Regions from separate parts of the Homo sapiens genome. Here all the other regions are linked to region 2. Evidence: promoter capture Hi-C in 16 types of primary human blood cells and fetal thymus (Javierre and others, 2016). All regions are on one chromosome and are shown on one strand. The core of a region is centred on a gene start or on the middle of the fragment in contact, and the rest is flanking DNA. Distances in the headings are between cores, read along the strand shown. Region 1 holds the start of GPR142 (G protein-coupled receptor 142). Region 2 holds the start of CD300E (CD300e molecule). Region 3 overlaps DNAI2 (dynein axonemal intermediate chain 2). Region 4 overlaps KIF19 (kinesin family member 19).

The links. The method cuts DNA at HindIII sites, captures the fragments that hold promoters and counts their contacts. A CHiCAGO score of 5 or more calls a contact.
Region 1: the fragment with the promoter of GPR142 here is called in contact with the fragment with the promoter of CD300E in region 2 in 3 of 17 cell types (monocytes, M2 macrophages and total CD8 T cells); the score reaches 10.2 in monocytes.
Region 3: a contact is called between a fragment that was not itself captured here and the fragment with the promoter of CD300E in region 2, in 4 of 17 cell types (M1 macrophages, megakaryocytes, M0 macrophages and 1 more). The highest score is 7.2, in M1 macrophages.
Region 4: a contact is called between a fragment that was not itself captured here and the fragment with the promoter of CD300E in region 2, in 1 of 17 cell types (M2 macrophages). The highest score is 5.0, in M2 macrophages.

Annotation. Positions count from the first base shown.
Region 1 is chr17:74,365,131-74,369,800 of GRCh38, forward strand. GPR142 (G protein-coupled receptor 142) reads left to right here and starts at 2,376. Exons shown (of 4, transcript NM_001331076.1): 1 at 2,376-2,664; 2 at 4,338-4,504. The coding sequence starts at 4,411. RefSeq lists an enhancer at 2,990-3,978. The HindIII fragment of the contact is 12,679 bases long and covers 1,208-4,670 here.
Region 2 is chr17:74,621,866-74,626,751 of GRCh38, forward strand. CD300E (CD300e molecule) reads right to left here and starts at 1,873. Exons shown (of 4, transcript NM_181449.3): 1 at 1,717-1,873. The coding sequence starts at 1,756. LOC101928343 (a long non-coding RNA gene) reads left to right here. Exons shown (of 4, transcript NR_158152.1): 4 at 3,662-4,131. The HindIII fragment of the contact is 4,294 bases long and covers 1,215-4,886 here.
Region 3 is chr17:74,288,270-74,293,156 of GRCh38, forward strand. It overlaps DNAI2 (dynein axonemal intermediate chain 2), which reads left to right. Exons shown (of 14, transcript NM_023036.6): 5 at 1,325-1,467; 6 at 2,751-2,864. Among named protein-coding and RNA genes, the nearest start is that of DNAI2, 16 kb to the left of the region's middle. RefSeq lists an enhancer at 829-1,329. The HindIII fragment of the contact is 3,992 bases long and covers 1-3,967 here.
Region 4 is chr17:74,345,581-74,350,695 of GRCh38, forward strand. It overlaps KIF19 (kinesin family member 19), which reads left to right. Exons shown (of 20, transcript NM_153209.4): 8 at 798-944; 9 at 2,197-2,319; 10 at 3,604-3,769; 11 at 4,821-4,995. Among named protein-coding and RNA genes, the nearest start is that of BTBD17, 14 kb to the right of the region's middle. The HindIII fragment of the contact is 2,750 bases long and covers 1-2,656 here.

The DNA.
Region 1 (4,670 bases), core at 1,126-3,625, 260 kb before region 2:
GATCTGGGAGCGCCATAATTCCTTGAAGGCAAGTCTGATGAATTCACAAGCCAGCACCATCCTAGAGAGGAGTGTTACTTCCCGCCCCAGACGGGAGTGTTTATAGCCCAAGCCATGTGTCTGAGGTCTTATGACCAGGAACCTCAGAGGCAGGATTTATTTTTCGAGTTCTGAGTTGTGCTTGACTTTTCTTTTTTCTGATTTTTGTTGTTGTTGTTGTTAGATATGGGGTCTCACTCTTTCACCCAGGCTGGAGTGTGGTGGCACTGTCATAGCTCACTGCAGCCTCAAATTCCTGGGCTCAAGCAATCCTCCAGCCTCAGCCTTCCAAGTAGCTGGGACCACAGGTATGAACCACTGCACCTGGCTACTTGACTTTTCTTTCCACAACCCCATGTTGTGTTTTTGTTTTGTTTTGTTTTGTTTTGTTTTGTTTGAGATGGAGTCTCACTCTGTCGCCAGGCTGGAGTACAGTGGTGCGATCTCAGCTCACTGCAACCTCTGCCTCCTGGGTGCAGGCGATTCTCCTGCCTTTGCCTCCGGAGTAGCTGGGACTACAGGTACCCACTACCTGTAGTGGCTGGCTAATTGTTGTATTTTTAGTAGAGACGGGGTTTCACCATGTTGGCCAGGATGGTCTCGATCTCCTGACCTCGTGATCTGCCCGCCTCGGCCTCCCCAAAGTGCTGGGATTACAGATGTGAGCCACCATGTCCAGCCCATGCTGTCTTTTTGGGGAAGTTTTTCCAATTGTGATAAGTGATCCCTTTGGACAAGGAATCTCTAGTACTGTAAAAGCAACGGAAAACTCTTGCAAGCTTGGGACCAGATAAAGAGTTTCTGAATCTGCAAAGGGGGTGATCAGACACTGGACTGTGGTAACACCTCAGAGGGGTGGGCTCCAGACGCAGCCTGGCCCTACCTGGCACCCTCCCTTGCATCTGTAGTGCCTCCTGTCCTGACTTAGGGTTCCCTGAGTCACTGGGCCACTTGGACTGGGGACAGGAGATCATGGGTTTAAGTTCCAGGCCCCGTGTACACAGGGGAGCACATAAAGGTAAATATGAGGCCGGGCATGATGTCTCACACCTTTAATTCCAGCACTTTGGGAGGCTGAGGCGGGTGGATCACTTGAGGTCAGGAGTTCAAGCCCAGCCCGGGCAACATGGTAAAACCCCGTCTCTACTAAAACTACAAATATTAGCCAAGCTTGGTGGCTGGTGACTGTAATCCCAGCTACTTGGGAGGCTGAGGCAGGAAAATCGCTTGAACCCGGGAAGCAGAGGTTGCAGTGAGCTGAGATTGCACCCCTGCACTCCAGCCTGGGCAACAGGGTGAGACTCTGTCTCAAACAAACAAAAACTTAAATAAGAAGGAATCCTTGGCCAGGTGTGGTGGCTCACATCTGTAATCCCAGCACTCTGGGAGGCCGAGGCAGGTGGATTGCATGAGCCCAGGAGCTCGAGACCAGCCTAGGCAACATGGCGAAACACCGTCTCTACAAAAAATACGAAAATTAGCTGGGCGTGTTGGTGCTTGCCTGTAATGCCAGCTATTTGGGAGGCTGAGATGGGAGGATCACTTGAGCCTGGGAGTTCGAGGCTGCAGTGAGCTATGATCACACCACTGTACCACAGCCTGGGTGACAGAGTGAGACCCTGTCTTGAGGGGTAGGGAGGCAGAAGGAAAAAAAAGAGAGAGAGAGACCCTGGTGCTCAGGCCTGGTGGCTCTGGCTGGACTGATCAGGGCTGAAGACTTCAGAGACCAAAAAGGTCAAGGTGTGGCCGGGTGCGGTGGCTCACACCTGTGATCCCAGCATTTTTGGGAGACCCAGGTGGGCATATCACCTGAGGCCAGGAGCTCAGGACCAGCCTGGCTAACACGGTGAAACCCCGTCTCTACTAAAAATACAAAAATTAGCCAGGCATGGTGGCAGGCACCTGTAATCCCAGCTACTTGGGAGGCTGAGGCAGGAGAATCACTGGAACCCAGGAGGCAGAGGTTGCAGTGAGCCGAGATAGCACCATTGCACTCCAGCCTGGGTGACAGAGCGAGACTCTGTCTCAAAAAGAAAAGAAAAAAAAAGTCAAGGTGTGCGGCTGGGTCTTCATAACATCTTTCACCTTGCCCAGGCTGGCTCAGAGGTGACTGCCTTAGTGGATAGGATCCCTTCCACCGTGGGCTAGCAGCCTACCCTGGTCACTGACACCACACCATGTAGGAAAGAATCGCCACCACCAAGAAGGGGCCTCTCACCTCTGTATAGGCTGTGTGCTGGCTGATGACGTGGTTGCCCTGTCCTGTCTGCTGCTGCCACTGAGCTGGACATCTCCAGGCTCCATCTCTTGAACCATGGATCCCAGCGTTGTTAGCAATGAGTATTATGATGTTGCCCATGGAGCAAAAGATCCAGTGGGTCCCCACTTCCCTGCAGGACATCACTGCTGTCCTGGGTACAGAAGCATATACTGAGGAAGACAAATCAATGGTGTCCCATGCACAGAAAAGCCAGCATTCTTGTCTCAGCCATTCCAGGTGGCTGAGGTCTCCACAGGTCACAGGGGGAAGCTGGGACCTCCGAATAAGGCCATCCAAGGACTCCAGCAGTTTCCGCCAGGTGAATCCAGCTGCCTCCCAGAACAGGCCTTCTATGGGGTGGGATGGTAAGTTGCTGGAAGGACGTGCATGGGGCATCATTGTAGCAAACTCAGTCCCCCTCCTCCATCTCTCCCTCTCCTCGCTCTGAATCCAGGGAGCTCTAGTTTTCTGTGTAGCCTGTGTGACAGCCTTGGTTGAAACCCTTGTGTTCCGTCTGAAGAATATTTAAGGTTTCCAGTCAAGTGTACATCCCTCAAAGAAACAAAGTGGGCTTGGCATGGTGACTCACACCTGTAATCCCAGCTCTTTGAGAGGCCAAGGCAGAAGGACCACTTGAAGCCTGGAGTTCCAGACCAGCCTCGGCAACACAGCGAGGCCCCAAACTCTCTCTATATCTATACATAAAATTTAAAAAACAAAGTGTAGGGACAGGGTGGGCACTCGGTAAATGTTGGCAGGGACCCTCCTTGCCCCTCACCCATGGCAGCTCCTTGAAGAGAGGGTCAGCCTCCTCTCACCCCTAGCCTCCTGCTGCAAGGAGGTGGTGGCCTGGGGCGTCATCTGTGCTACTTGCACTTTCTGGGGCTGGGGTCCCAGCACTCCACCAGAGGACCTGCCCTGAGCGGGCAGCTCCGTCTCCAGTCCCACTGTGCCACCCAGGGTGCCTAGCCAAACCATGGGACTTTCAGGCTTGCAGGGTCAGGATGTGGCCACCAGGGGGCAGCAGGGCCTGCGCTGTGAGTATCCGAGGGGGGGTTGGGATGGGGAGTTCCAGGCTCTGATGTGAGATCTAACTCCCAGAGCTGGGAAGCTCCCTATATTTCCTGCCATATTTTCTGCTGCATTCCCAGAGGACAGGCCATGGGAGGTGATTCCAGGGGGGCCTGAGCTCTCCTCCCGAGACCGTCCACGGGGCATCCATGTCCCGGGTACCTGCTTGTGGGCTGCTCTGGTCACTCTTCCTCTAGGGCAGGAGAGCCAGTCTGGCCTCTTCTGAGTGCACACCAGCAACGGCTGTTGTTTATTTGCCAGGGATTGATATTCTTGAGGGATGGTCCATTTCACCAGGGCCAGGGAAACAACAGCTTGCAGGACTGTGGTTTCCCAGCACCGGCTGCAGGCAGCCTCGTCCGGCTGCTCCCAGAGGATGCCCCACCCTGTGCACGGCTGCCTGCCATCCTGCCCCTGGGGGTAGCCTCCACCTCCCCCACCATGGCCACTGCAGGACTGACCCTGTGCACCTGGTCCCCTGAGCCTCTTGGGATCATAGCCCTGTCTGTGGCAGCCTTACCACTCCTACCTGGCACGACTTCCCCAACTCCTCACAGAGGTGCCCTACTCTCTTCCCTTTCAGTCTGGATGCTCATAGAGTCAGCACCCTGAGTCCTTCTGCCTGTCCCCAAAGTCCTCAGCCCCAGGTTTGACCCCAGCTGAACACAGGCCAGCTCACAGAGTGCCCCGGGGCACGAGGCAGCCCCCCAGAACCCCCATCCTGCCATCCTGCCTCTTCTCCTCACTTCCTGCTCCCCCAGGCATAGACATACCTGTGAACCCCATGCCACCCTCAGCTCGTCTCTCCTGAAGCTGAAGCCCCTGCCCAGCCCGACCCCTTCCCCTGCCTGTGCGCCTTAGAGCACCCTGGTTTGCTCCACCAGCATCTACTCTAGCTCTTTCCCCGGTGCCTCCGCCCACCAGTTCCTTCCTCCTCCTTCCCCCGCCCCGCCCCCTGCACTAACAGGCTCAGTGTCTGCGTAAGGATCCTGGGGCAAACAACCACTTGGAGAGCCAAGGGGTGAGAGGTACAGCTGGCGATGCTGACAGGGAGCTGCGGGGACCCTCAGAAAAAGCCACAGGTGACCCAGGACTCAGGGCCCCAGAGCATGGGGCTTGAGGGACGAGAGACAGGTAAGGCATCTTGAAGTGGGGTGTGCTGGGGGCAATAAGGTGGAAAGGCAGGAGGGAACAGGAGGCAGGTTAGGGACCTAGAGGGTGGAGTAGGGGCCAAAGCTGAGAGTGAGTGAGCAGTGAGCCCCCCGGCCTCAGCAGGAAACGAAAAGCTGGAGTTCAGCCT
Region 2 (4,886 bases), core at 623-3,122:
CAAAACTGCTCAGAGGGTTAAATTCTATCATCTATTTGGAAGTGTTTATAGGTTATAAAAATGTGTAATAAATAGAATTCTAGTTTTGCTCTTTTTAAATTTTTTACTTTTCTTTTTTTGTAGAAATGGGGTCTTGCTATGTTGCCCAGGCTGATCTCAAACTCCTGGGCTGAAGCATTCCTCCTGCTTTGACCTCCCAAAGCACTGGGATTACAGGTGTGAGCCACCTCACTCAACCAACGTTTGCTTATTTTGTATTTGAATTTGCTTCCTTCCTCTTTGTCATTTCCCCTCCCTGCTAGAATTGCCCTTTCCATCTCTCTTTCCCAGTTAAGATTTTCAGAGGGACCTGCGCAGGTCACATTGCGAGTCTGAGGATGGGGAATGAGATAGGGGTGGAAAGAGAGATGGAAAGGGCAAAGAAAAAGGAAGCAAATTCAAATACAAAATGAGCAAACATTGGTTGAGTGCAGTGGCTCATGCCTGTAATCCCAGTGCTTTGGGAGGTCAAGAGAGGAGGATTGCTTGAGCCCACGAGTTTGGGTCCATGTCACCTACCTGGTCTTCTTCCTTTAAATCGCTGTCATTTTCACTCACCCTTCTAGAAAGAATCTTGTCATTACATTGGGCAATTTCTATGTTTTGTGAGGGAACTCAACCATAAAATTCATTCTGCAAACATGAAGAATGTCCTCTAATTTTTAGCCTAAATTTATTTCCCCAGAGACAAATGTGTTTTCCTGCAGTTTTGTATTTTGAATGTCTATTAATAAGAGTTTCTCTTCTGAAGTCCAACCTTTGCAGGACAGTTTCATTTACTTGTTTACACCACACCTTGTTCCGGGAAGGATTTAAGGTAGATGTTGAGGATGGCATTTTTTTTTTTCAGACAGGATCTCAACTCTATCACCCAGGCCAGACTGCTGCAGTGGTGCAATCTCGGCTCACTGCAACCTCCGCCTCCCAAGTTCAAGCGATCCTCCTGCCTCAGCCTCCCTAGTAGCTGGGACTACAGGCATGCATCACCACGCCCAGCTAATTTTTGTATTTTTAGTAGAGACAGGGTTTCACCATGTTGGCCAGGCTGGTCTCAAACTCCTGACCTCAGGTGATCCACCCACCTTGGCCTCCCAAAGTGATGGGATTACAGGCGTGAGCCACCACGCCCAGCCCATTAATTATTTCTCACAAACCATTCCAACCCCTTTACACTAAGCTTCGTCAAAACAGAACTATTGTTAATTCTTGAACTCTCCATGGTCTTTAATGTCCTCACACTTGCACATAAGCTATTCCTTTCCCACTCAGCCAACTCATTCATCCTGCAGGATGGACTTCCAATGAAGCCTCAGTGACATCTCCCACCCTTCCAAGAGCAAAGTGAGGGGTTCCTGTTGCATACTCTCATCACCACATGAATGAGTCTCTACAACAGTAATTTCCACATTGTATTGTAGTTAGTTGACTCCCTCAGTTCAGAAGTTACTCTTAATTACAGCACCCAGAACAGTCCTGGCACATATCTGGTGCTCAGTAAGTGTTTGTAGGATCCGTGGATGAATGATTGAATGTATAGAAGGATGCACAGGTGAATGAACGGATGTATCTTTCCCTTTTCTGTGGACACTTCACCTCTGGTTTGAACCCAGGACAGCTCTTCTACCTACTGTCCTGCCCCCTGCAAAACCAAGTCCCCAAAGCCACAGCCCCACTCACCTGAGAGGCAGAGAAGGAGTAGAGCTGGGAGCAGCCACATGTTCCTGTCTCCTTGGCTTCCGTCCTCAGCAAATCTAGGTCCCAGCTGGAATCCAAGTATATGTAACGGAGCCTGGGTCATCCACTTTCTACTTGTCCAAGTTTCCTTTGTGTTCTCACTCATCTATTTCCTCTTTTGCCTTTTAAAGAATGCTTCCTAATTTTAAGCCTTACTTAGCAGAAGAGAAAGGGTGGCAAGAGACGTTTCTGAGAATGGACCAAGCACAAACAGGAAAATCTGTTGGCCTTCATTTAATGTGAACGTAATGTTTGAGTCACCCCCTGAGATTTCATGACTCGGAATTTCATGAAAGTCAGTCCCAGTTTACGAAACCTCTCCAACAGAGAAAACTCTGTTCCCTGCCTCTTTCACTCTTCTTCCTATCTGGGATTACTTCATCGATCTAAGGAGCTTCCCTTCTCTATGGCTGCCTACTTTTGAATCATAAAACACCCTCTACTTAAGGAGCTGTGGTGATCACTCCCCATGTCTTTCTCAACCGTTATCTCCATGCGGATGACTTCACACCTCTTCCTCTAACCCAATATCCCAATATCTCTCCTGGGCTCCAGATCCTACTTTCTAACTTCCTATAGGGAAGCTCCACCTGGTTATACACTGTTAACCTAGTTCAGTATATGGGTCATGGTCAACAGCATAGATTCTGAAGTCACACAAACTCAAATCTCATCTCCATCATTTATTAATCATCTGACCTTGGGCATGTTGCCAAATCACTCTCCTCCTCAGTCTCCTCATCTGTAAAATAGAGTACTCATGACAATTCTTTCTCAAAGGGTTGCCACAGGAAATAAATGAGTTAATGTAAGTAAAGTGCTTGATACAGTGCCTGGAACATAGTAACTGCCCAGTTAATATTAAATACCTTTAGAATAGTCCTGGACCATTGAAATAGCTTCTCATCTGGTCCCTCCACTAGCTATACATTCTCTCTAATCCAACTTGCACATCAGAAGATACTCTTCTCTAAGACATAGCTATCTGAAAATATAATTTCTTTCCTTCTCTTTCCCCAGAGATACCCATCTTTGATACCCACAGCCTCTAATCTTTACTATCTTTTAGAACTCTACTGGATCATCTGATATTTCAAACTTTTGTTGTAAGAGCACAACTTCTTATCTTTTCTGTACCACCATATCTGATGAAGTATTATATAGCCAGGCATGGTGGCACGTGCCTGTAATCCCAGCTACTTGGGAGGCCAAGGCAGGAGAATCACTTGAACCCAGGAGGTGGAGGTTGCAAAGCAATGAGCCAAGATCACACCATTGCACTCCAGCCTGGCAACAGAGAGAGACTCCATCTAAAAAAAAAAGAAAGAAAGATGAAAGAAAGAAAGAAAAAGAAAGAAAGAAAGATAGATAGATTATATATAGAATAGAGCCCTGGATGGAACAATAAAACACCAGGACCCTGGTCCCATGTGTGACATGAGCCACACACTTGAGGGATCCAGAATGAGCAGAGCTGACAGTAGCCACAACATTGTGTCTTAGTCCATTTTCTTCTACTATAACAGAATACTACAGGCTAGCTAATTTATAAAGAACAAAAGTTGGCAGGTGCAGTGGCTCATGCCTGTAATCCTAGCACTTTGGGAGGCCGAGGCACGTAGATCACTTGAGGTCAGGAGTTTCAGACCAGCCTGGCCAACATAGCAAAACCCTGTCTCTAACAAAAATACAGAAATTAGCCCTGCATGGTGGTATGAGCCTGTAGTCCCAGCTACTCAGGAGGCTGAGGTGGGAGAATTGCTTGAACCCAGGAGACGAAAGTTGCAGTGAGCCAAGATCACGCCACTGCATTTCAGCCTGGGCGACAGAGAGAAACTCTGTCTCAAATAATAATAATAAAAAAGAACAAATTTGTTCACCTTCCTAGCTTTCTGAAGATGAGAAGTCCAAGAGCATCGTAGTGGCATCTGACAAGCGTCATTCCATGGCAGAAGACAAGACAGCAGGCAAGCCTCCTAGACAGAGAGAAAAAGGGGACTGAACTCAGCCTCTCAGGAAACCACTCTCACAATAACTAACCCACTCCGGAGATAACAGCATTAATCCACTCGGAGGACTGAGCTCTCATGGCCTAATCACCTCTTAAAGACCTCACATCCCAATGCCATTACATTGACAGTTAAGTTTCAACACGAGTTTCTGAGGGAACATTCAAACCATAGCAACCCTTGTGCCATTTATTCAGCAGAGACAACAGTTGCAGGCTTCAGTTCTTTCCACCAAGAGGACCAAACAAATCTTCAGCCTTCTTGGTTCTGCTTTTATAATGTTTTCTTCTGGTTCCTTTTTTGAAAATCTTATCCCTACAGTTGTTTATAAAATAAAAGAAATGGGAATAAGCAAAGGCATGTGTTGATGGTTGAAAAACTATAAACTCACCATGTCTAATATAGGCACATTTCATTATAATCCAATTAGAAAATCCAAACTCCGACCACCTAGTAAGACCGAGTTGACACAGAAGCTATCATCTGGTTCCAAACTGAAGTCAAATCCAATAAAAGGAAATTCCAGGTATTAGAAATGTAAAGGGAACTAAAAGCCAGGTCTGTGAGCAGGATCTGATACCAAGAGGCTAATGGGGACCAGTCAAAATGAATTTGGGCCTTAGGAGGAGAGGGGCTGCTGTTTAAATAGCCACTCAGGGACAGAAGACAATGTCTCAGGTCTACACAAGACAGGGAGTGGGAGCAGAGCCCCCTGCCAAAAGCTAGGATCCATGAATGGTCATTACGCCCATGGAACAGGATGAGGGGAGACCCCATTGATGGGCTCATGGGAGTATCAAGGCATCTCCACTCCCTGTAGTTATAAGGAGTTACCTTCCATGAGAACAAGCACCTAAGTTGCACTACACAGGGGTGTGAGATCCAAAGTACAACTTCCCATCGTGTGGGAGTGTGGACAAGGACGTCAATATAAAACAGGTTGGCAAATGATGAGACTTGTAGGGCCATGGAAGAGATGAACACACACCAAAACCACACCTCCAGTTCACCTTGTGTTTTTATACACCCCATGAGCTAATGATCATTTTCACATTATTAATGGTGGGAATTTTTTTTTTAATTCATGACACATGAAAATTGTCT
Region 3 (4,887 bases), core at 722-3,221, 330 kb before region 2:
AACTATAGGCTAATATAAGTGTTCTGAGCACATAGGCTGGACTAAGATGTGATGCTGGGTAGGTTAGGTGTATTCAATGCATTTTCAGCTCCTGATATTTCCAACTTACTATGGGTTTATCAGATGTAGCCAACATCATTAGATAAGGAGCATCTGTATATGTGTATAAATATATGCATATGTGTATGTGTGTATATATGTGTAGATGTATGTTTACATGCCTGATGTGAGGAGAACATCTGTGATTTTGGACTTCTGGCATCCGGAACTGTGATAGAATCAATTTCTGTTGTTTGAAGCCACGCAGTTTGTGGGACCTCGTTGCAGCAGCCCCAGGAACAGAATACCCCATCCCAGAGCACCTTTGTAGGGTGTACAAAAGAAGCTGATAGGAAGGAGAGCTTGGGAACAGGGATGGGGAGAAGCCTGGGGAAGAAGGACTCCTCGGCCTTGAAGTCTGGTGGAAGGAGTTGCAGAAAGTGGGTGGAAGTGAGAAAGACCATGCTCTGTGGCCTCGGTTTTGACCATGAAGAAAAAAGCAAGGCCGTCCAATCAGATGAGTGGAGATGAGCAGGAGGCTGGAATAGAGCAGCTGGGGAAATGCGGAGGGGAAGCCTGTGGACCTGGGGCAGAGGACAGACCTTGGGTCTGGGTGATGCAGGACTAGGGGTGTGAAAGGTGTTTGGGAAATGACTTGCCTCAGATCCCAGCTCTGGGGAATTCATTTCACTACCACGACTGACTTAGGGGCCTGGGAAGTACCTAGCCCAGTCCCAGCACAGCAAGAAAGAACTCTTTTCTGAGGCAGGGCTGACTCATGGTGTGCAAGCAGGGCCAGTGGCTGTCAGCAAGGGGTGTGCAGGAGAGGGCATGGCGGGGCAGAGGCTGCCCTTCCTGTTGCCCTCCAGCCCTGCTGGGCTCTAACCTCGTATATGGACCACCAGAGCAGGATGATGCATTAGAAATCATCCGAGGGGCCGGGCACTGTGGCTCACGCCTATAATCTTAGCACTTTGGGAGGCCCAGGTGGGCATATCATCTGAGGTCACGAGTTTGAGACCAGCCTAGGAAACATGGTAAAAACCTGTCTCTACTAAAAATACAAAAATTAGCCAGGCGTGGTGGTGTGCGCCTGTAATCGTAGCTACTCGGGAGGCTGAGGCAGGAGAATTGTTTGAACCCAGGAGGCAGAGGTTGCAGTGAGCCGAGATTATGCCACTGCCTGGGGGACAGAGCAAGACTCCATCTGACAAAAAAAAAAAAAAGGGGGAGAAATTGGGGAACCTCACATCCAGCCTTCTGCTCTCTTCCCTCTCCCCTGCAGGGACCCCCAGGAAATCAAGAGGGCTGCCACACACCTCTCCTGGCACCCCGATGGCAACAGGAAGTTGGCAGTGGCATACTCCTGCTTGGATTTTCAGCGGGCACCTGTGGGCATGAGCAGCGATTCATACATCTGGGACCTGGGTGAGAAGCAGCGGGGTCCTGGTGGCCTGGGAGGGCTGAGGGCTGGGACCAGCACAAGTGGAGGAGCGGGAGGGAGGGGCAGGAGGTCAAGGACACTCACGCGGTTGGTGCCTCAAGGGAAGGGCCCGCAGTCGAGGAGGAACACACTCTTCTCCTTCCTCTCTTGTCTGGTTTCAGGCAGAGCCAAGCAGAGTCAAATCAGAAGCAGGAAACCCCCACCAATTCCAGATTCTTAGTTCGAGGCATGAAGACCTGACCCCATGGGATCTCAATTCTTAGCTCCTAAGGAGCATATCAGGCCGGGCTCGGTGGCCCATGCCTGTAATCCCAGCACTTTGGGAGGCCAAGGCAGGTGGATCACCTGAAGTCAGGAGTTCAAGACCAGCCTGGCTAACATGATAAAACCCTGTCTCTACTAAAAATACAAAAATTAGTTGTGCTTGATGGTGGGTGCCTGTAATCCCAGCTACTTGGGAGACTGAAGCAGGAGAATCGCTTGAACCCAGGAGTCAGAGGTTGCAGTGAGCCGAGATCATGCCACTGCACTCCATCCTGGGCAACAGAGTGAGACTCTATCTCAACAGCAACAACAAGACAGAGTGCCCAGCAGACTGAGAAGGGACTCAAGGGGCGGCGGAATGGAACTTGTGCCTTTGTCCCATCTGTCCTGACACTTGCCTTTAATTCATGGCCTGCAGGGGCAGCGTGTCCATTTATTAGCACAAACCATTGTCTACAGAAGGGCTGGCAAGACACAGGCAGGGACAGGGTGGTGGTGGCTTCACGCTCTCCAGCTTCCCTTCGTTGTCAGCATTATTAAAATAAACATGTAGGTGCCAGGCAGAGAGCTAACGCCCGACATTCCAACAGCTCAGCGAGTTCTGGCAGCAGCCCTATGGGGTGGACTCCGTCATTATCTGCAGTCCACAGACCTGGTTGGAAGAAACCGGCAGAGAGTTGACTTTGTGTAAAAACTTTAGTATCAAAACCTCGTTTCACACCAAACCTAGGAACTGGACTAGAAATATAATTATCACACACATACGCACACCCCAATCCTGTTCACCAAAAATAAAAACCATCAGCAAAGCCCCTAGGGTCAAGAATGCCAGATTCTGGCCAAGGTGGACCAGGGGGTGCAGGCTGGGGAAAGACTGGAGGGGCTTCCAGGCTTCCCCCTCTGCCACCATGCCCCCGCTACCCACCCGCAGAAGGGGTGAAACTGGTTGATCCTGTCCTTTTCTTTCCGGGCCTGGTGGGGATAATTTTTTTGTGCTTTATAGAAAACCCCAACAAGCCTGAACTTGCTCTGAAGCCATCGTCTCCACTCGTGACGTTGGAGTTCAACCCCAAAGATTCCCACGTACTCCTGGGTGGCTGCTACAATGGACAGATAGGTAAGGAGGGACCTAGGCTTTTTTATTTTTATTTTTATTTTTTTTAGATGGAATTTTGCTCTTGTTTCCCAGGCTGGAGTGTAGTGGTGCAATTTTGGCTCACTGCAACCTCCGCCTCCTGGGTTCAAGTGATTCTCCTGCCTCAGCCTCCCGAGTCGCTGAGATTACAGGCACCCACCACCACACCTGGCTAATTTTTTTGTTATTTTTAGTAGAGACAGGGTTTCACCATGTTGGCCAGGCTGGTCTCGCACTCCTGACCTCAGGTGATTCACCCACCTGGGCCTCCCAAAGTGCTGGGATTACAGGTGTGGGCCACCACACCTGGCCGGGACCCAGATTCATAGTCAGAGCCAATCCTGCTGCTATAGGGCAGAGCCCACATGGCAGCCTGGGCTCGGCCACAGAAGACTAAGTGGGGTGAGGGCCTCCCATAGCTGACCAACTGCAGACACGGGTGAGGCAGGTTTGGCTGACACCTCAGCAGTGTCTCCTGTTACTACTGTAAGTCTAAAATTAGCTCAAAATAAACAGTTTTAAAAAACTATAGTTCAAGTAAAATCAGAGAATATTTGACTAGGGGCCGCCATAAAGGGATGATGAGAGCGTTGGGGAGCCCTATTTTGGGAGAGGTTTCTGGGAAACCTACATGCTAACGGATATGGGTAATACTGGCCTTATAGAATGAGTTGGGAAGTATTCCCTTCTGGAAGTTTGTGAAGAATTGATATTAATTTTTTTTTTTTTTGAGATGGAGTCTCGCTCTGTCGCCCAGGCCGGAGTGCAGTGGTGCAGTCTCAGCTCACTGCAGCCTCCACCTCTCGGATTCAAGTGATTCTCCTGCCTCAGCCTCCTGAGTAGCTGGGACTACAGGCTCATGCCACCACGCCTGGCTAATTTTGTCTTTTTTCAGTAGAGTTAGGGTTTCACTATGTTGGCCAGACTTGTCTCAAATTCCTGACCTCAAGTGATCCTCCCTCCTTGGCCTTCCAAAGTACTGGGATTACTGGCGTGAGCCACCATGCCTGGCCGCTATTAATTCTTGAAATGTTTGGTAGAACTCATCAGTGAAGCCATCTGGTCCCTGGCTTTTCTTTATTGGAAGCTTAAAAGTTACAATTCAGTCTGTTTATTTGTTATAGATCCTCTTCACATTTTCTGTTTCTTCTTTAATTGCTTTTGGTAGTTTCTGTCTTTCTAGGAACTTTTCCATTTCATCAAGTTGTCTAGTTTGTTGACATTTAATTGTTCACAGTATTCCCTTATAATCATTTTCTTTTTCTTTTTTTTTTTTTTTTTTTGAGACAGAGTTTTACTCTGTTGCCCAGGCTGGAGTGCAGTGGTGTAATCACTGCTCATTGCAGCCTCGACCTCCTGGGCCCGAGCAATTCTTCCACCCCAGCCTCCCGAGTAGCTGAGCCTACAGGCATGTGCCACCACACTCGGCTAATTTTTGTAGTTTTTTTAGTCACAAGGTTTCATCATGCTGCCCAGGCTGGTCTTAAACTCCTGGGCTCAAGGGATCCGCCTGCCTTGGCTGGCCTCCCAAAGTGCTGGGATGAACCACCACACCTGGCCTGATTTCAGTCTTTTAAAATTTATTGAGACTTGTTTTATGGCCTAGCATATTGTCTATCCTGGAGAATGTTCCATGAGCACTTGAGAAGACTATATTCTGCTTATTGTCCGGTGTAGTTTTCCTTTTTTTTTTTTTGGGACGGAGTCTTGCTCTTTCGCCCAGGCTGGAGTGCAGTGGCGCGATCTTGGCCCACTGCAAGCTCTGCCTCCTGGGTTCACGCCATTCTCCTGCCTCAGCCTTCCGAGTAGCTGGGACTACAGGTGCCTGCCACCACGCTGGGCTAATTTTTTGTATTTTTTTTTAGTAGAGACGGGGTTTCACCGTGTTAGCCAGGATGGTCTCGATCTCCTGACCTCGTGATCCGCCCGCCTCGGCCTCCCAAAGTGCTGGGATAACAGGCGTGAGCCACCGCACCTGGCCTGTCCAGTGGAGTTTTCTATAGTT
Region 4 (5,115 bases), core at 32-2,531, 280 kb before region 2:
GTCTGGGCTCCCTCGTGCAGGCAATCTTGGGGGTTTTATGGTCACCTGAGCAATGAGGCTGGGTGATGTCACCATTGCTGGCACTGGAACAAATGCAAGGGAAATGACAGTGCCAGAAAGAATGAGCAGTCTTTTGTCTTTGAACATCTGGGGTCGGATCCGAACAGGGCAGGTTCAAGAAACTTACCCCTCCCTTCCAGTAAAGCCTGGGGGGCTTCCTGGAAGGCACACAGGGGAGAGGCCTGGGAGGAGAGAGAGTGCCCTTCAGCCACTGGAGCGAGCTGGTCCCGGCTTCTCCAGGCTGGGCAGAGCCACCTCCTAAGGGGAGCTGCAGGCAGGGCCTCCTCGGCTTTGACATGCTCCTGCAGGCCCAAGAAAAGGAGAAGAACCTGCCCTCCACCACCATGCACATGTGCACGCACTTTCCTCCTTGCTCCCTGGAGCACCCTCTGGAGCACCAGTGGTCCTGCCGGCTCCCAGCTGAGCTGCCTGGAAAGCAACCTCCCTCCCATCTCATCCATGGCACTGTGTGTCAGGCCGTGCCACGGCACCTGCCCTGAGGAGAACCGGCCATCTCAGCCCTCCTCAGAAGCTGTCAGCCCATCACTCTTGTTCAGAGGCCTCTGGGTCTCTTAACCTTCTCCAATGCCCTCAGTGGCCTTGGCAGGAGGACGGCCACAAGGTCCTTGGGGGTTTATTACCCAGGATCACCAGGTCATTCATTGGTGGGGTGGCTGGGGAGAAACCCAGTCCCCTGCCTCATCAGGCCACACGTGTGCCCTTTGCTCGCCCCCTAGACACAGAATCGTGGGCAGCGTATGAAGGAGGGGGCCCACATCAACCGCTCACTGCTGGCACTGGGCAACTGCATCAACGCCCTGAGCGACAAGGGTAGCAACAAGTACATCAACTATCGCGACAGCAAGCTCACCCGGCTCCTGAAGGTACCAGCCACAGCTGGGCCTGGGCACTGGGCACCAAGGGTGAGGCTGCCAGATTAAACAAATGAAAATACAGGGCACCCAGCTAAATTCCAACCTCAGGATACACAGCAAAATTTATTTTAGCGTAAATATGTCCCATGAAATATTTGGGATATTCTTATGCTAAAACAAAGTAATTGCATATCTGAAATTCAAATTTAACTGGGTATCCTGTATTTTATCTGACGACCCTAACCAAAGGCTGGGCAATGGGAAGGAAAAGGAGCACGTGATACCCCCACCCAGGGCTGTGGGTCAGAGCCGTCTAGATTTGGGGGTGCAGGTGGGCAGTCAGCCTCATGGCCCCACAGGTCAGCTGTTTGGGGGTGGCCTCCTTTGTGCAGGGGTGTCCTTGGCCTTAAATTATAGCAGCATCACTGAGCGCCCACTCCTGGCTGGTCTCTTGAATTCAGTACTTCACTCTATTAGCTCCTTAGATCTCGTCAACAACTCTATGAGTTTGAGGGATTACATTTGCAGATGAGGAAACTGAGGCACAACTCAGTTAGGTAATGTTCCTAAGGGCTCACACTAGTAAGTGCTGAAAGTAGGATCCAGTCAGAGGCCTCCCTGATCTAATATCAGAGTCACCGCTTACTTAACATTGCCAGCAGCTGCCGTCATGACTGCACCTAGAAGCCGGGGAGGTGGGGACAATTGCAAAAGGACTGCCCCCTTAAAAAGCAAGGAAAGCCGGGTGTGGTGGCTCACGCCTGGAATCCCAGCACTTTGGGAGGCCGAGGCAGGTGGATCACTTAAGGTCAGGAGTTCAAGACAAGCCTGGCCACCATGGTGAAACCCCATCTCTACTAAAAATACAAAAATTGCCCAGGCATGGTGGCAGACGCCTATAGTCCCAGCTACTCGAGAGGCTGAGGCACGAGAATTGCTTGGACCTGGGAGGTGGAGGTTGCAGTGAGCTGAGACAGCGCCACTGCACTCCAGCCTGGATGACAGATCGAGACCCTGTCTCAAAAAAAAAAAAAAAAGAACTAAAGAGGTGAATGAGCTTTATTAAGGTTACACAGCTGGTAATTGCTGGAGCAGGGCTTTCTTCCTCCCAAGCCTCACACCATATGACGCTCAGCAGCCGGGTCCCTTAAGTGTAAAGAGACAGAGAGATTGCACTCGCCAGGGAGGGCATCGTGAACAGCCTGGCAGGAGGAAGGCCTGAGGAGGCAGTCCCCACTGACCACAGCCACCTCCCATCCAGGACTCTCTGGGAGGAAACAGCCGCACAGTGATGATCGCTCACATCAGTCCTGCGAGCAGTGCCTTCGAGGAGTCCCGGAACACCCTGACCTACGCCGGCCGGGCCAAGAACATTAAGACTAGGGTGAGGGCCCCTGGACCGTCCACCAGGACACACCTTCCTGGGCTGAGATTCAAGCCCCCGGGCTGATCCCTGCCACCCCACTGCACTCTCTGGAACCAGCCACTGCTGCACTGGCCTCATTCCCTAGTTGATCGTCACCTGTACACTTTCCCTGCACCTCCAAACCCTGCTCCTCTGCCGGGAAGCCGACAGCTCCCAAGGGTCCCCGCTTCCTCCAGTCCCAGGACTGTGCTCCCCCTGCCTCATCCCCTCTTCTCTTCCCTTCCTCGTCTTCAGATGCTCATTTAGACCTTTGCATTTCCAAAGCACCTCTTCATGATGGTCATCACAGGAGGCAAGCTTCATTGAGCACTTGCTCTGAGCTGTTTCACATGCTACCTCCTTTGATCCTCAAAAAACAGCAGTATTATTGCGGTTCCCATGTACAGATTAGGACAGCAAGGCTTAAGGAAGTTAAGTGACTTCCCAGCTGGCCAGTGATGGCGCTGAGGATGGAAATGAGATCTGCCCCGTTTCCAAGTCCGTGTCCTCACCTGTCTGTAAGCATGTCGGAACCCTTGCCATCCGCTTAGAAATCCATTTCCACCTGTTCGTGTGTGGAGGAGTGGGAATGGATTCATGTATGATAGCATGTAGGGAACATTCTCCCAACACCTAACACTTGCCAGCTGCTGCCCTGAGGGCTGTAAGTTTTATTCCAACCCCTCAATGGGGGACGGGAGACACATTCTTGAAACAGCTCATTGATGGTTCAGAATATTCCTAATAGCAGGTAAATGATGCCAATGGTAGGTGCTGGGGCAAGACAGGAACAGGAGGTGGGGGTGGCCTGGTGGGGTCCAGTGGAACTCTCTGGAGACTGTGAGTGGGACCCTGAAGGCTGGGAGGACATTCCAGAAAGGTGGGAGCAGGGAGAGCACAGGTTCCAAAGGCAGGAAGGGGATGGCGTCTGTGGTGGGTATGGGGAGAGCAGGACAGGTCTTCAACTGGAGTGGGATGTTCATGCAGGAGCGGTGAGCCCAGAGAAAATCAGAGAGATGGGGGTGGCCCTTCAACAACGGGTGGAGGAATGAGGACGTTCCCCGCAGGCATTAGGAAGCCACTGAAGGTTGATGAGATCTAGCAGTGAGTGTGACAGGAGGTTGTGGAAGTGGAGGAAAGGAGGCCATTACTGTCACCCAGAAAGACTGGGGGAGGCAGGGGGAAGAAAGGCCCTGCAGGCAGGCCTCGGTGAGTGCACCTGGGGTGACTGCATCCCCTCCGCTCCATACGTGTTCCCTGCAGGTGAAGCAGAACCTCCTGAACGTCTCCTACCACATCGCCCAGTACACCAGCATCATCGCTGACCTGCGGGGCGAGATCCAGCGACTCAAGCGCAAGATTGATGAGCAGACTGGGCGGGGCCAGGCCCGGGGCCGGCAGGATCGGGGTGACATCCGCCACATCCAAGGTGCGCCTGTGGGTCTGTGTGAGTGGCAGCCCCCTCCGGCCAGCCTCACGTTGCTCTGGGATCAGGCCATGTTGTGTTCAAATCCAGAATCGGGCTCTTTCTGGCTGGGTGGTTGAGCTAGGCACTCACCAGCTCTGAGCCTCCTAGCATTCAGCTGTTAAATGGGGTTGTGATCTCTGCTTCAGACAGTTACCAGAGATCACAAGCCGATTTCCCAACCCCACCTTGGAAGAGTAGGTGGGATCCCACGAGGGAGAGGCACGTGAGCAATGAGCTGCGCAGGGCGCACACTAAGGGCTGTGGCGTAGGGCTGCGAGGTCATGCCTGCACCCCCGGAATGGGCTCCGTTTCCTTGTAGACCTGCATATTTGCTATGATGGTTTTCCAACAGACAGTAAAGCTTTTTTTAAAAAAAAATTTACTAATATAAAGAGAGAGGCAGACAGTAAAGATTTTTTTTTTTTTTTGAGACAGAGTCTTGCTCTGTTGCCCAGGCTGGAGTGCAGTGGCATGATCTAGGCTTACTGCAACCTCTGCCTCCCGGGTTCAAGCGATTCTTCTGCCTCAGCCTCCCAAGTAGCTGGGATTACAGGTGCCCGCCACCACACCTGGCTAATTTTTGTATTTTTAGTAGAGACGAGGTTTCACCATGTTGGCCAGGCTGGTCTCGAACTCCCGACCTCAGGTGATCTGCCTGCCTAGGCCTCCCAAAGTGCTGGGATTACAGGTGTAAGCTACTGTGCCTGGCCACAGACGGTAGTTTCTAGGGGCACCTTTTTATAGTTGGCACAGAGGTGCTGTAAGGGTTAGCAGGAGCCCAGTTCATACCAAGGAGCTGGGAATTGCTTTTGGGCAACAGCTTGAAGACTCAATGTGGGAGTGGGGTCTGGGAGGATGTAGTAATCTAGGGGGTCTTCCTGGAGGAAGCAGTTGGACAGGAAGTGGGAGCACTGAGTTGGGAAGAAAAGGAGGGGAGGGGCCCAGGTGGGCCCAGGCTTTGCTAGCTGAACTTGCCGCCTCCTCTACCTTGCCCACCCTCACCCATCGGCAGCTGAGGTCCAGCTGCACAGCGGGCAGGGTGAGAAGGCTGGCATGGGACAGCTTCGGGAGCAGCTCGCCAGCGCCTTCCAGGAGCAGATGGATGTGCGGAGGCGCCTGCTGGAGCTGGAGAACCGCGCCATGGAGGTCCAGATTGACACCTCCCGACACCTGCTCACCATCGCCGGGTAAGCCCCCCTCCCAGGACCCTCCAGGCCCCACCCCTGTGCCTGGGACAGAGGAGCACGACCTGTGGCTGTACAGTGTGCCCTGCCCCCATGGCCTGAATGCCCTGTCTCTCTGGGTGG